5 separate regions of the Homo sapiens genome follow, and all the other regions are linked to region 1. The links are contacts of gene promoters, found by promoter capture Hi-C in blood cells and fetal thymus (Javierre and others, 2016). All regions are on one chromosome and are shown on one strand. The core of a region is centred on a gene start or on the middle of the fragment in contact, and the rest is flanking DNA. Distances in the headings are between cores, read along the strand shown. Region 1 holds the start of MYOM1 (myomesin 1). Region 2 overlaps LPIN2 (lipin 2). Region 3 has its middle 21 kb from the start of EMILIN2. Region 4 overlaps EMILIN2 (elastin microfibril interfacer 2). Region 5 overlaps LPIN2 (lipin 2).

What was found. Contacts are between HindIII fragments. The CHiCAGO score rates a contact against its expected background, and 5 or more counts as called.
Region 2: a fragment that was not itself captured here is called in contact with the fragment with the promoter of MYOM1 in region 1 in 13 of 17 cell types (naive CD4 T cells, naive CD8 T cells, activated CD4 T cells and 10 more); the score reaches 8.4 in naive CD4 T cells.
Region 3: a contact is called between a fragment that was not itself captured here and the fragment with the promoter of MYOM1 in region 1, in 1 of 17 cell types (activated CD4 T cells). The highest score is 5.8, in activated CD4 T cells.
Region 4: a contact is called between a fragment that was not itself captured here and the fragment with the promoter of MYOM1 in region 1, in 10 of 17 cell types (activated CD4 T cells, non-activated CD4 T cells, naive CD4 T cells and 7 more). The highest score is 8.7, in activated CD4 T cells.
Region 5: a fragment that was not itself captured here is called in contact with the fragment with the promoter of MYOM1 in region 1 in 1 of 17 cell types (megakaryocytes); the score reaches 5.9 in megakaryocytes.

Annotation. Positions count from the first base shown.
Region 1 is chr18:3,218,559-3,221,258 of GRCh38, forward strand. MYOM1 (myomesin 1) reads right to left here and starts at 1,410. Exons shown (of 38, transcript NM_003803.4): 1 at 1,245-1,410. The HindIII fragment of the contact is 10,525 bases long and covers 1-2,190 here.
Region 2 is chr18:2,916,025-2,918,724 of GRCh38, forward strand. LPIN2 (lipin 2) reads right to left here. Exons shown (of 20, transcript NM_001375808.2): 20 at 975-2,700. Among named protein-coding and RNA genes, the nearest start is that of LPIN2-AS2, 50 kb to the right of the region's middle. The HindIII fragment of the contact is 2,479 bases long and covers 95-2,573 here.
Region 3 is chr18:2,824,856-2,827,555 of GRCh38, forward strand. No RefSeq gene overlaps it. Among named protein-coding and RNA genes, the nearest start is that of EMILIN2, 21 kb to the right of the region's middle. The HindIII fragment of the contact is 810 bases long and covers 893-1,702 here.
Region 4 is chr18:2,868,700-2,871,399 of GRCh38, forward strand. The region is part of intron 2 of EMILIN2 (elastin microfibril interfacer 2); the gene reads left to right. Among named protein-coding and RNA genes, the nearest start is that of EMILIN2, 23 kb to the left of the region's middle. The HindIII fragment of the contact is 1,388 bases long and covers 593-1,980 here.
Region 5 is chr18:2,950,600-2,953,299 of GRCh38, forward strand. LPIN2 (lipin 2) reads right to left here. Exons shown (of 20, transcript NM_001375808.2): 4 at 456-757. Among named protein-coding and RNA genes, the nearest start is that of LPIN2-AS2, 15 kb to the right of the region's middle. The HindIII fragment of the contact is 1,121 bases long and covers 750-1,870 here.

The DNA of each region.
Region 1 (2,700 bases), core at 160-2,659:
TATGGAGGATAATTACCATGTATAATTAATAACTACTAGATGAATTTTGATAAAACAAAGGGGTTAGAAAATGTTAATACAGAATTACGTTAGGCAGTTATAAAGATATTAGAGAAGTTTCTGTTATGATACTACATTGTAACATGGCACATGTTATTTGAATGATTTTTCAAATAAATAATAAAGAAACTTGTTATGTTATAAACTAAATTCATTCCCCAGATGACTTGAAATGCTGTTATTTTCACAAAATAAAATCTTTAAATATCTTGCCCCAATACTATTTTTTACTCTCTTTATTTCTATTTCTCCCAAATACATTTATTTTTAATAATACTTACTATTCCTCTCACATAGATAGTAAGTTACAAGTAAACAGGGTTTGACTTGAAGCCCACATTGCTGATTGTCACAGCCCTGACCTCTGGAACAAAGGTACAACCACCTCCTCTTCATCAAGTAAGCCCTTGAAGTTAACTAAAGCCAGGATTAGCTCCAACACATGACGGCTGGAGTACGTTGGGAGGAAAGATGGTTTTAGTGTCTTTTGTTTCTTTAAGACCTAAATTTTCTTTCTGAAAATAATTTGAGAATTTAGGAAGAAATACAAATTCCATAGCTGTAATTTATGATACTTTTGTGCAGGCATTAGAGGGCAGAAGCTGATGAAAACGATTCCCAGAAAAATCACTATGTGGGGCTCTATGTTGCCTCTGAAATATTACTTAACCATTTGAGGCCATATCATTGTGCGCGCTCACATTTATCCACATTGCATCGTCACAGCAAGATCCCTGAATTATAAACTAGTGACTTCAGAGTTAATTTTCCTTCTTTCGGTCTAATTTGTAACCAGGGAGCATTGTATGGCACATGCAGGATTGAAAATGCAGGGCCTCCTGTCTCTCATCCATTTCAGATTTCAACCAAACCGTACTTGGAAATAGCATTAAACACACGCTTACAGTTCAATCCGAGGCAGATATGACCTCCTTACAGTTCCAGGAACAGCAGCTTAATTTCAGAAGAATACAGTGATGTGAGAGAAGAGCTGTGCCAGCCCGACTGGCACCCGGCTGTTCTGGTTTCCCTCCCTGGAGCTTCACTTTCCTATTTCTCTGTTATTCTGACATCTCTTTGAGAAAACTGCTGAGTTCAGAAGACAGAAAGAAAGCACTTACACTGCACTGCTGCTAAGCTCATAAGCTATCAAGTGCATTCTTCTGCCTCAGTGTCACACTTACCAGTTTCCAAAGGAGTAATGGTGGTGGAAATGTTCCGATGAGGCCGAGGAGCTGGATGAGAGAATGAAGACTCCACCTAGGTTGAATCCAAGACAATGTTAAGAGGCAGGGCTAAAGACAGGACCCTGGGGGCCAGTTCAAAAATAATGCATGTGGTCAGGCAGTCGAATGTCAGGCCACACAACCAGCCTTTTATGGCCAAGAAGGCAGATAAATATAGCAGCAGATGGGGAGGGTAGTTCCAAACCAGGAGGAGGAGAGGGGCATGGGCAGGTAGCAGCCTTAGTAATATAATTGCATAATGCCGGTCAATGGGTCTGGCCCGATTAAACCAAATATAGGGTTTTTATTTGGCAACAAGAGTTATTTTCAATGTCACTTTATCAGTAGATAATTTAAAAGTGTAATGGAAAGAGTGGTTTGTGTTAACAGCTAAAAATAGGTGTAGTAATATGATTCTCAAAATGGACTTCGTGGAATTTTAATGCCAAGATATGATTCTGAGTGTGCTGTTAACAACACACGTACGGTACATTTAAAAGATACAATGTGAAAAAAGAACTTGAAGCTAACTAAAGGCAAAACAAGGAAGAAATGGGTTACACGTGGTGGCGATTTTTGCCTGACATCACGGTCACTATTTCTCTCACTTCAGGAAAATTTACAAGGTTAAGTCTTAGCTTCAAGCCTGAATATGTGATTTCCTGTTCATTAACTAAAGCCTTTTGAGACGCAACTCAGTGTTTTATCTTTCCTAACTCAGAGTAGGGTCAGTCCATCTAATAAGAGATTCTCTTTCTTTGTTCTTTAAATGGTGTGACCAATTAAGAGGAGGTGTAACCCGGTTGTGAGAGCCTGTGTTGTGGATTCAGACCAGATCTAGATCCCACTATATTGATAGCACTTAGTAGCCATGTAATCTCCAGCAATTTATTTCTCCTTCCTAAGCTTCAGGTTTTTTGTCTATAAAATGGGGATAATCATATCCAAATTATAGGATTGCTGTGGTGATTAAATGTGATACTGCAGACAGAGCACTTGACCTAGTGACAGTCACATAATATAGACTCAGTAAATATCAGCTGTTATTACTGATACCAATAATATAAAAGCTCATTGTTAGATTACATGTATGCAGCAGGTTGGTATTTTGATCTACTGGCCTTATGTTCTGACAGTGATATTACATCAACTGAATAAAGGTCACCTGTGTCTATCAAAATTGTTTTTCTTTCTGAGACAGGGTCTCACTCTGTTGCCCAGGCTGGAGTGCAGTGGTGCAGTCTTGGCTCACTGCAACCTCTGCCTCCCAGGCTCAAGCAATCCTCCCACCTCAGCCTCCCGAGTAGCTACAGGCGCATGCCATCACACTCGGCTAATTTTTTTTTTTAACTCTTGGTAGAAATGGAGTTTCACCATGTTGCCCAGGCTGGTCTCAAACTCCTGGACTCGAGTA
Region 2 (2,700 bases), core at 84-2,583, 300 kb before region 1:
CTAGCTTTCCCAGGTGACTAATTTTCTCACAGTTTATGTATTTGCAGCTTGACAGGGAGTATTTGTGATTGGAGTCACTTCGTTCATGCCTGTAAGCTTGGAAACCCAGCTTTGCACATATCCAATCCACACCACAGCCCCTTTCTAAAGATAAATGTGTATTTTCCTTATGCCATCCTATAAACGGGAAAGAAAATGGAAGGACACATGCCAACTCCAATGGGTGCGGGGCAAAACAGAGAGAAGCCACACGCAGGCACGTCCTCAGAGCTCAGGTATGCAAAGTTCACTGCTCCCCTGAAGCCCTCAAAGCTGCTCTGGGTAAAGACCATTTCCTTTGTAACCAATTTCCCTGAGCTCTTCTTTTGCATTCCCAAAGACCCATGGTTGCCATCACGTCATGCAAACAAACATTTCCATCCTGAACACACGCTCCTGTGGAGGGCCTTTGGGATGCAGGGTTCAGCATATGCTGCATCTGGTAAGGGCCCAGCAATCTGAGAGGACAAAACATCACCATGTAAGTAATATATGCGATGTGGTTTTGATCAAAGGTCACTCTGACTCTGTGATGAAAACATCAGGATTGACTGCTAAATCATACCCACCCTAAGGAAGGGTTTAAGGAAAGGTGGGGTGTCCAGGGGCTCTGGACAGGACTCCCAGGGAATTCAAGTGCTTAGGGAGAGGAGGTAAACACAGCCTCCTGGACAGCCGTGAGACCACAGCAGAAGTCACATATGGATGGGTCATTTCCTGGCAGAAGGTACAAAGCAAGAGGTTAGTTCCTGGGGGTGTAGCTGCACTTCTGAAGCCAGGTTTTAAGAATAAGCAACAAAAAGGAGCTCCTGCTGTAGACAAATTTAAGTGTCAGCAAAGATCAAGATGCTAATTTATGGAAATTACCAATTTCTGGCAAGAATCTAGAAAGATGGTTTCAATGTCCCCTGAAGAAAAGAGCCAAATGCATTCAGTTTATGTTATGTTCGTTTATTGTTGTAACATTTTGTTTTGAACATCAAACACTGCACCAAAATATTAGCCATTCATCTTGCAACAATTGCTTTACTGTAACTAAGAGTACTGTACTGATGATGTTTACAATTAACTTTGGACAACTTAAAACTTATTAGTGACATTGCTGTCTAATAATCAAATACTTCATCATAGGCTGAACATAATTATTAAAAGAGCAAAGTTTCCCCTCCCTTTCTTACTTTCAAACAAAACCAAAAGAGTAGTTTTCATCTGGAAAGAGCACTTACTTCAGGGAAAGACTCAATTTTTAACCAGTTTTATTAAACCCTGGAAGCTCTACAACACGGGAAAACATCGAAATTCCCCGGAAGTCTGTTTTTGCCAACTTGTAAAAAGTGAAAGAGCTGACTTCCTTGTTTATTCTTTAAAGGGTTGGCCTGCACCTGCAGTGCCAACTGTGGAAGGGCTGTGTGCAGGCCCCACAGTTGCAGGGGCTGTTCCGGGCCAGCGCTTCCCAGTCATCCAATCTCCTTTGTCCCTCGGTTGTTCTGTGACTTTGAGCAGCTTTCATTTTAGGACATCCCATTTTTAAGTTTTTTCTTTTTCCAGTTGAAAACTATGCAGATGTTTTTAGACAGAGCAAAACACAACACAGTACCCAAAAACGGAGGCAGCCTGCATGCTCCAGGTCTACACGAGCACCTCACAGCCTGACAAGGGGCAGACAGCAACTCACACGGGACGAGCTTCAGCACACAGACAGCAAAGCAAATACGAGACTTAGACTGAACTGCAAAGAGGGAAAGGGCCATTTCACCAATGGAGTAACTGAGAGAATAATGACTTAGAGCCCAATCTGCCTGCCATCTCCCTGAGCCGTCACCCGTCACTGAAGATAGCGCGAGGGTGATGCTTCAACTCACCATCCTAAGGGTTTGTGTACAAACACACTCGAGGGCATCTCTTTCACAGAAAGAACAAATGTCATTTGTACCAAATGGCAATGGATTTTCAGCACAAACTTAATACTTTCCTAACACTACAGCAATAGTAATCATCTACTTTCAGCAAGAGGGACTCCTTTAAACAAGGAAAAAGACTCACATTAATTAGCCTATGTACCCACTGGATCAATCTGCAGCAACAAAGTCTAGTGCTAGCAGACACAGGGACAGAGGGACCAGCTACCCTCAACACAGGGCCAGGAGAGCCGGGTCCTAGACTGAACCCTCTAAGAAGGCCCATGTGTCCAAAGAGAAGAGCTGTCAAGAAAAAGAAACTAGTCAAAAACTCTTTAAAGGACAACCTAAAAAGGATTAAAGATGTATATTAAGATTTTTCAGTACCATACATATGCAAAGAAGTCCTACTATAAGCTCAGTTAAACACACAAAGCTCTCATTCTTCCTCTAAATAGAAGGTAGTCAAGAGGACACACAGATGGCATCTATGAAATAAGGTGGCTGCATGGCTGCTGTACTAGAATTCACAAACTGGGAAGAACTTCATATAAACAGAACCCAGGATCCCTAACCTACTGTAGATAAATAAACTCATTAAACAATTAGTCCTTATCAACTATTTAAGCTGGGGGAAGCTTTGCATGGGAGAAGGCTCATGTGGTCCCTTCTCTGGGAACATGAGCCTTCCTAGGTTTTGCCACTGAGAACTGTGTTTAGGGGATTTCAACATTGTCTCTGCATCCGACAAGCACTAGGAAAA
Region 3 (2,700 bases), core at 48-2,547, 390 kb before region 1:
ATATCTAGGGGTGCAATTGCTGGGTTTTAGAGTACACACCTGTTCAAATATACATAGTAATGCAGACTGTTTTCCAAAGTAGTTGGACCAGTTCAGACCCTATCTTCGTCTGTTTTGTGTTGCTTTAAAGGAATACCTGAGGCTGGGTTATTTATAAAGAAAAGAGGTTTATTGGGCTCATGGTTCTACCGGCTATACAAGAGGCGTGGCCCCAGCACTTACTTCTGATGAGGGCCTCAGGCTACTTCCTACTCATGGCAGAAGGCAAAGGGACACCAACATGTGCAGAGGTCACAAGGCAAGACAGGAAGCAGGAGAGTCGGCGAGTGCCAGGCTCCTTTTTAACAACCAGCAATCATGAGAACTAATAGAGTGAGAACTGACCCCCTTCCCCAGAGAGGGCAATAATCTATTCATGAGGGACCTGCCCCATGAACCAAACATCTCCCATTAGGCCCTTCTTCCAACCTTGGGGATCACATTTCAACATAAGATTTGGAGGGACAGAGGCCCAAATGATAGCGTACCCCTACCAGGAGCACATGACCGTTTCTCTCCATATTCTCACTGACACTGGGCATTGTCAGACTTGTAAATTTTTTTCCATCTGTCAGGCATGTAGCATGATCCGACTGTATTAGATATTAACTCATGAAGTAGGTATTAACTTGTACTTTCATGATTATTAATGAGGTTGAGCATATTGGCATTTATTGGCCATTTGAGTTTCGTATTTCTTTGAAGTGCAGATTCCAGTTTTTGTCTATTTTTCTATTGGATTGTTTGTCTTTTTCTTGTTGATTTGTCATTGTTGCTGATTTGCTAAGTTCCACCATAAATTCTTTCTCAGTTATTTGTTGTAACATCTGAGAGGGCCTGGAGGCACCGGAGAAGCTTCAAAGAAGGGCTGAGGACAGAGGTCTTGTAGGTGGAGCTGAAGTTCTCCAGGCAGCGAGGTTAGCCCTGCCATCCCACACAGAGGAGCAGCTTGGGCAAAGATTACACTGGCTGAAGGGCCTCCAATCACACGTAACTGGAAAGAGGTAGAAAGGAGAAAGAATTGCTTTCTCCACTCAGCTTTCTCAGGCAAATTCAATGTGTTTCTGGCTTGAACATTCCTGTTTTTGAAGACTGCTTACAATGTGGATAAAATGGATTTGTGTATCTCCAGTTGGGGCTTTAGCTCTGCCTGGAGTCTTTGAAGGCTTATCTCTGAGAAATTACCACAGATCTTTGGGGAGGAGAGTGGGGCAGATTGGAGGACAGCATCCTCTAAATGAAGTCATTTTCATGGTCAAGACTTGCTCCCTTTACCTTTTTTTTTTTTTTTGAGACAGAGTCTCGCTCTGTTGCCCAGGCTGGAGTGCAGTGGCATGATTTCAGCTCACTGCACCCTCAGCCTCTCGAGGTCAAGCGATTCTCTTGCCTCAGCCTCCTGAGAAGGTGCCTGCCACCATGCCCAGCTAATTTTTGTATTTTTAGTAGAGATGGGGTTTCACCATGTTGGCCAGGCTGGTCTCGAACTCCTGACCTCAAGTGATCTGCCTGCCTCAGCCTCCCAAAGTGCTCCTTTAAAATTCTGAAGTATCTTGAATAAGTATTTGGAACCCCAATCTAACAAGATCATTCATCATGAATCTGCCCTTCAAAAGATATAATTTATTTGTATTTCTCTGGGAATCATTTAGGAACAGCAGTTCAAAGCTTGAAATGGGTTTTCTTCTTTTGTTATCTCTCACAGTTGACAGATCTCTCTTGCTAAGCTGCGATTTGGCAGTGCTTGGCTCTTAATCCCAGCTATTTAAAAGTACAGTTAAGGAAAACTGTAATTCTGAGGCAATGCGTGTTTTGAAACCTTATTTGGCCTCTCATTATCTCATTCATTGGGGCGGGAAGCACTCAGGCTGGGGTCACATGCTTGGCCTAGGGAGAGGATGACTATTCTGTCCTCGGACTGACCGGGCCCTGGAGTCGGGCAGGGAAGGCTGAAAATAGTCATTTCTTGGCTGCATTGGTCAGGCAGGAGGGTCTCTGTAACACAGGGTCGCTGACAAGTGAGACGGAGACACAAGGTCCCCGGAGGTCGGCCTCAGCAGGGACAGTGCATGTGTTTGTAGGACAGTTGAGGAAGTCCTAAGCAAAGCTTTACAGAGCTTTAGATTGATTACAGTTGTTTACAATTGTTACAAGAGAAAACTAAAGTGTAGTCTTCTGTTCAAAGTTTGAATTTTCAACTCATTTCTGAGTTAGCATTCCTGGATCTTAGTTCTCATCGAAATCAAGCATCACTTTCCCCCTGTATATTATTATGTTAATTTGGTCAACTGTCTTGTAAAAGTCAGATGCCTGTCTGCTTGTTCTCACTCATTTGACCTATGTGATTAAACAAGTATTATGCACCAGGAACTGTGCCAGGCATAGGGATAAAATATGAATAAGACAAATAAGAAACAAGCTTTTCCTCTGATGAGTCTTTGTTCAAAGCTAATAGCTGGGGCTTGGTTCGGTGGCTCACTCCTGTAATGTCAGCACTTTGGGAGGCCAAGGCGGGCGGATCACATGAGGCCAGGAGTTCGAGACCAGCCTGGTCAACATGGTGAAAACCTGTCTCTACTAAAAATACAAAAATTAGCTGGGTGTGGTGGCACACACCTGTAGCCCCAGATACTCAGGAGACTGAGGCAGGAGAATCGTTTGAAC
Region 4 (2,700 bases), core at 37-2,536, 350 kb before region 1:
GCAGGAGAATCAGGCAGGGAGGCTGCAGTGAGCCGAGATGGCAGCAGCACAGTCCAGCTTCGGCTCGGCATCAGACGGAGACCGTGGAAAGAGGAGAGGGAGAGGGAGAGGGAGACCAATTCTTCTTTAAATGTCTGTTAGGATTTAGCTGTGAATCCATCTGGTCCTGGACATTTTTCTTGTTGTATTTTCAAAATGCTAACATACATCTGTGATGTTTTGTGTTATTTTACACAATATGTCAGTTTGAAGGGAGTTTTTTTTTTTTTTAATCCTGTTTGGCTTTCTTCCTTAATCATTGATCCAATACCTTTAAAAGAACAAAAGTAAATATTAGACCTGAGTTCTCTATAGGCAGAAACAATTGGTTATGTGTCTGAAGAGTAATCTGATACATTTTTAAAAAACCAACTCTAGTTAAACCTACATTCTGAAACTTTGACAAAGACTTAATGATGCTGATTTTAGTTTCTATGTAATTGAAATATGTTATTGCATAGTCAAGAAAAGACTTCTCTGGTACTTCCCTTTCACAGATTTGAAGAGATTTAAAAATACCTTAATGCAGAAATTACATAGTTAAAAAAAAAAAAGCTTAATTGAAGTATAATTTACATGAGTAAGCCACATATTTGAAGTTGTACAGTTTAATATTTTGACATATATACCCGTGAAACCAACATCACAATCAACATATCCCTTGCTAATCTCTCCCTCCAGTTTCTCTCCACGTACCCCCTCCCTGGGAACTGCTGATCCACTTTCCCTCACTAGGGATAAGTTTGCATATTTTAAAGTTTTATGTAAATAGAGTCATACAGGTTGTACTCTCTTTTGACTGGCTTCTTTCATTGAACAGAAAGATTTTGAGATTCATTCATGTTGTAGTATGTATCAGTAGCTGATTTTTTTTTTTGAGATGGGATCTCACTATATTGCCCAGACTGGTTTTTGAACTCCTGGGCTTAAGTGATCCTCCCACCTCAGCCTCCTGAGTGGCTAGGACTCCAGGTGTGTGCCACTGCACCTGGCTGTAGTTGATTACTTTTTGTTGTTGGATAGATTCCTCTGTGTGTGTGTGTGTGTTTGTGTGTGTGTGTGTGTGTGTGTGTGTACCATCATTTGTATAGTTGCTGAAGACGTGGTGAAATACAGAGTGGGCAAAATAACTTTTACTGATAGTAAGGATACTTCTCGGAGTTTCTGAAGAACAACTGATATGGGAAATACATTACAGATATAGAACACTAGATAATAATGGACTAGGCATGGTGGCTCACACCTGTAACACGACACTTTGGGAGGCTGAGGCAGGTGGATCACTTGGGCTCAGGTGTTAGAGACCAGCCTGGGCAACATGGCAAAACCCAGTCTCTACCAAAAATACAAAAATTAGCTGGGCGTGGTGGTGCACGCCTGTGGTCCCAGCTACTCAGGAGGCTGAGGTGGGAGGATCGCTTGGGCTGGGGAGGTTGAGGCTACAGTGAACTATGATTGTGCCACTGCACTCCAGCCTACGTGACAGACCCTGTCTCAAAAGAAATAAGTAAATAAAAATAAAAACATAATGAAGTAAAAAACATTTCACATTTATAGCCCTGGAAAATGTTGGATTAAGGATTCATAATTAGCATAAGCCATTTTGAATTGTCAGAAAGCTCAACAGGCTTGAAAGAAGACTTATTATTTGAAGACTATTTGTTTCATTAAACAAATATTTTTGTTCAAAGCCTACATGTGGCCCAGAACTAGTTTCTACAGTGATACAGTAAGGATCTTTCTGTTGGCTTCTGGAAGTGCACATCTAGCAAGTGAATTGAAAGATAAACATAAATAATTACGACATAAAAGGTGGGAATGAGAATTGTAGTAAGAGAAACACAACGTGCTGGGGTGTTCAGAGGTAGAAGAAAGTTATTTCCAGCCAGGAGGAATCCGAGAACTTGTTTGCAAGTGGTGACGTCTTATGGCTTTGAAGGAAGCTTCTAGTTGAATATATGCAGATGTGAGAGAAGGCCAAGGTCAGCGTAAGCCAAGACACACGAGCAGGGACCTGGAGGTGGGTGTCCACAGGGGGTCGTAGATCAAGACATCAGCAGGGTTGGTTCTCCTGAGGGCTTCGAGGGAAGGATCTGTTCCAGGCCTCTCTCCATGGCTTGTAGATGTCCGTCTTCTCCCTGTGTCTCTTCACATAATCTTCCCTTCTGTGTGTGTCTGTCTCTGTCTCCAAATTCCCCCACCACCCTTTTTTTCTTTAGCTACCTGTTAACTAAATTTTCCCTGGTTTCTAAGGACACTAGACCTATTGGATCAGTACCCACTCTAATGACTTTGTTTTAACTTGTTTTAACTTGATCACCTCTGTAAAGACCCTATCTCCAAATAAAGTCACATTTTCCGGTACTGGGGGTTGGGACTCCAAAATATCTTTCTGGGGGGCACACAATTCAGTCCAGAACACTGTGGTTGGGAGTGTGGGCTTTCTTATCCATGCAGAGGAGGGTCATGAATGCTTTCATTGGGGACATCATCAAATTTGGGCTTTTCCCCCCTTTTTGTGGAGGATGGGGTCTTGCTATGTTGCCCAGCCTGGCCTCGAACTCCTGGGCTCAAGTGATCCTCCTGCCTCTGCCTCCCTAAGTATTGTGATTACAGGCGTGAGCCACCACACCTGGCAGGGACATCATCAGAGCTGTGCTT
Region 5 (2,700 bases), core at 60-2,559, 270 kb before region 1:
AAATAAGCAGCGATCAAGACTGCTCATGTAAAAAAATAAAAATCATTCCTTTTCAATTCCAATAAAACAAAACTCAACTCCTCAGGAAAAACATACCAAGCCTAAGGCCACTGGGTAGGGAAATCCCAGAGATGACATGGTGTCCAACTGGATCTGCTCACCGAGGGGCAAATCACTAATTCAGATCTTTTGACTTAGAACTTATTTGGCTCCTGGAAACTTCTTTATGAAAAGAAACACAACCAGTCTGCTACAAATGACATTTCAGTAGCATATTTATAGAATAGTTGAAAGGAACAAAGAAACTGCCTTTGCTGCTTGATTCCACAATAAACTGTAAAGGGGGAAAACAAGCCCAAACCTCACACTGTGTATCCATAAAAAAACTGGCAGCTCCTGGCTTCACATGAACTCTAGGTACCCGCACAAGACCCTTCCCAGGCTGAGAGTCCTACCGTGCTGCCTGGGCCCCCTTGTCATCATCGGAGCTCACGCCTACATCACATGTGTCTTCTGCAGCAGCAGATGCGGCCTGCTCTTCCTTCTTACTGTCCTGTTTGTATTTCTTTCTCCTTCGTTTTTTCTTTTTCACAGAACTTGGAGTAAAAATTGTCTCTGTTTCCAAGACGTGTGAGATGTCTGAACTCTGAGATGGTGTTTCATCTCCACCCGATTTCACCAAAGGGGTGTCAATATCTTTAAAGAACTGATCTTCAGTAGGAATTGGTGAGGTGGCAAGGTAAGCAGGAAGCTTTTCCTTGAGGAGAATGGAGAAAGAAAAGTTATCCATGACAAACTCGACAGTGAATTAAAGCAGTAATATTTTGAATATATAAATTTTCACCATGGTAAAAAAAAAAAAAATACATATTCCCTAAAGGCAAGAAAGTCCCACTGAACTAAGGCACTGCCTACTATACTCTGACGAGGTCTTTCCCCTGTGAGGCAGCTAAGTACCAGCCCACTTGGGTACATGTAACTGAGTCCATCTGAAGGAACTGACATGCCAAGTCAGCATGGAACACCCCAAAGCCATAATTAAAGCTAAGCCTATTAAATTCTTCACAAAGCAAAGATCAAAGCAGCAACAAAAATCTCAGGAGGTGTTACAAAGGACTCTCTCAAGAACTCACACAGAACATTCAGAACAGGAAAAAGCAGAAGGCAGAGATTAAGGACACTACATCAGACAAAGGGCAGCAGGACAGGTGAGTGACGCGAGGATGCAGTGATACAGAGCGGCCAATGCTTATGTTTTGCCAAATTAATTGGAGAAAGGCAATTAGAGACAATACCGTGTAACAAATGACATTAGTAAATTTTTAAACCATAAAGCATTTATGTTTAAAAATAAGAAATATTCCTTCCTGTAGGAATTCAAAAGAAGAAAATAAGGCCCAATATTTAGAAGCAGTCAAACTCCTAATACTAAATAAACGATCAAGTCTGGTGTTCAGTAAATTCATGTCTTAGCCATTTGTTTCATTCCTTTTTGTATCATCAGAGGAAATGGAAGGTACATAATAGAGATAAAAATTAACTTCAGGCAGAACGTGGTGGCTCACGCCTGCAATCCCAGCACTTTGGGAGGCAGAGGCAGGCGGATCACCTGAGGTCAGGAGTTTGAGACCAGCCTGGCTAACATGGTGAAACCCTGTCTCTACTAAAAATACAAAATTAGCTGGGCCTGGTGATGCATGCCTGTAATCCCAGCTACTCAGGAGGCTGAGGCAGAAGAATTGCTTGGACCTGAGGGGGAGGTTGTAGTGAGCCGAGATCATGCCACTGCACTCCAGCCTGGGCAACAGAGCGAGACTCCATCTCAAAACAAACAACAAAAAAATTAACCTCATATAATTTAAAATACTCAAGCTTTTAAACAATAGTTCTGAAAATGTATAGGTTTCTGTAATTATTTTTTTATTAAGCTTTTGAACTTAGCTTTGATAAACATATTACCCTGAAGCTAAAGTTTGATTTAGCTAGGAGAAATCTGTGTTCACCAGAAACACACACTTACAGAGAAATTGTAATAAGATATTCTGAATGTCCAAAAGAAACCCAGATGAGAGGTCGTGGTCTCTGACTTTGAGGATTTTTAATTCAATGATCTTTATTTTACTTACTGAAAGCTCTTTTTGTTTCTGGTGGTATTTCTTAGTTCTATTATAGCAATGTTTGTAGGATGAAGATAACCTGAACGCCTACCAGCAAGAAAATGGTTAAACAAACTATGGTATGTCCATACTATGGAATACTGTGCAGCTATTAAAAGCACAGAGTTAGGTTTAGAACTAGACTTGAAAAGAATGTTGATGACATATAATTAAATGAGAAAAATCTGAGAGAAAAAAATCAAATAAATGGCAACAAACTGGGTTTTTGGTCATCTTTATCCTACTCTAAATGACGAACCCCTAGAGGAACAGAGGCATGTTGTATTCATAGCATGTGGCATAGAGTAGTAATTCCAACATTTGTTGGATAAATTAACAATTTTTTATTTTAAGGAGAAGCATACTACACAAGATAAACTCTGGTCAATGTAGTCATATGTGGAATAGGGAGAAAAAGGCTGGAAAGTTGACATTTTCCAAGTTGTCCTTGCTGAGCATAATTTTTAGCGGAACTGTCAGAATAAGCCATGAAAACGAGGTTAACATCAATAACCCAGTCCTCTCGCTTACGGTGCCTGCTGAT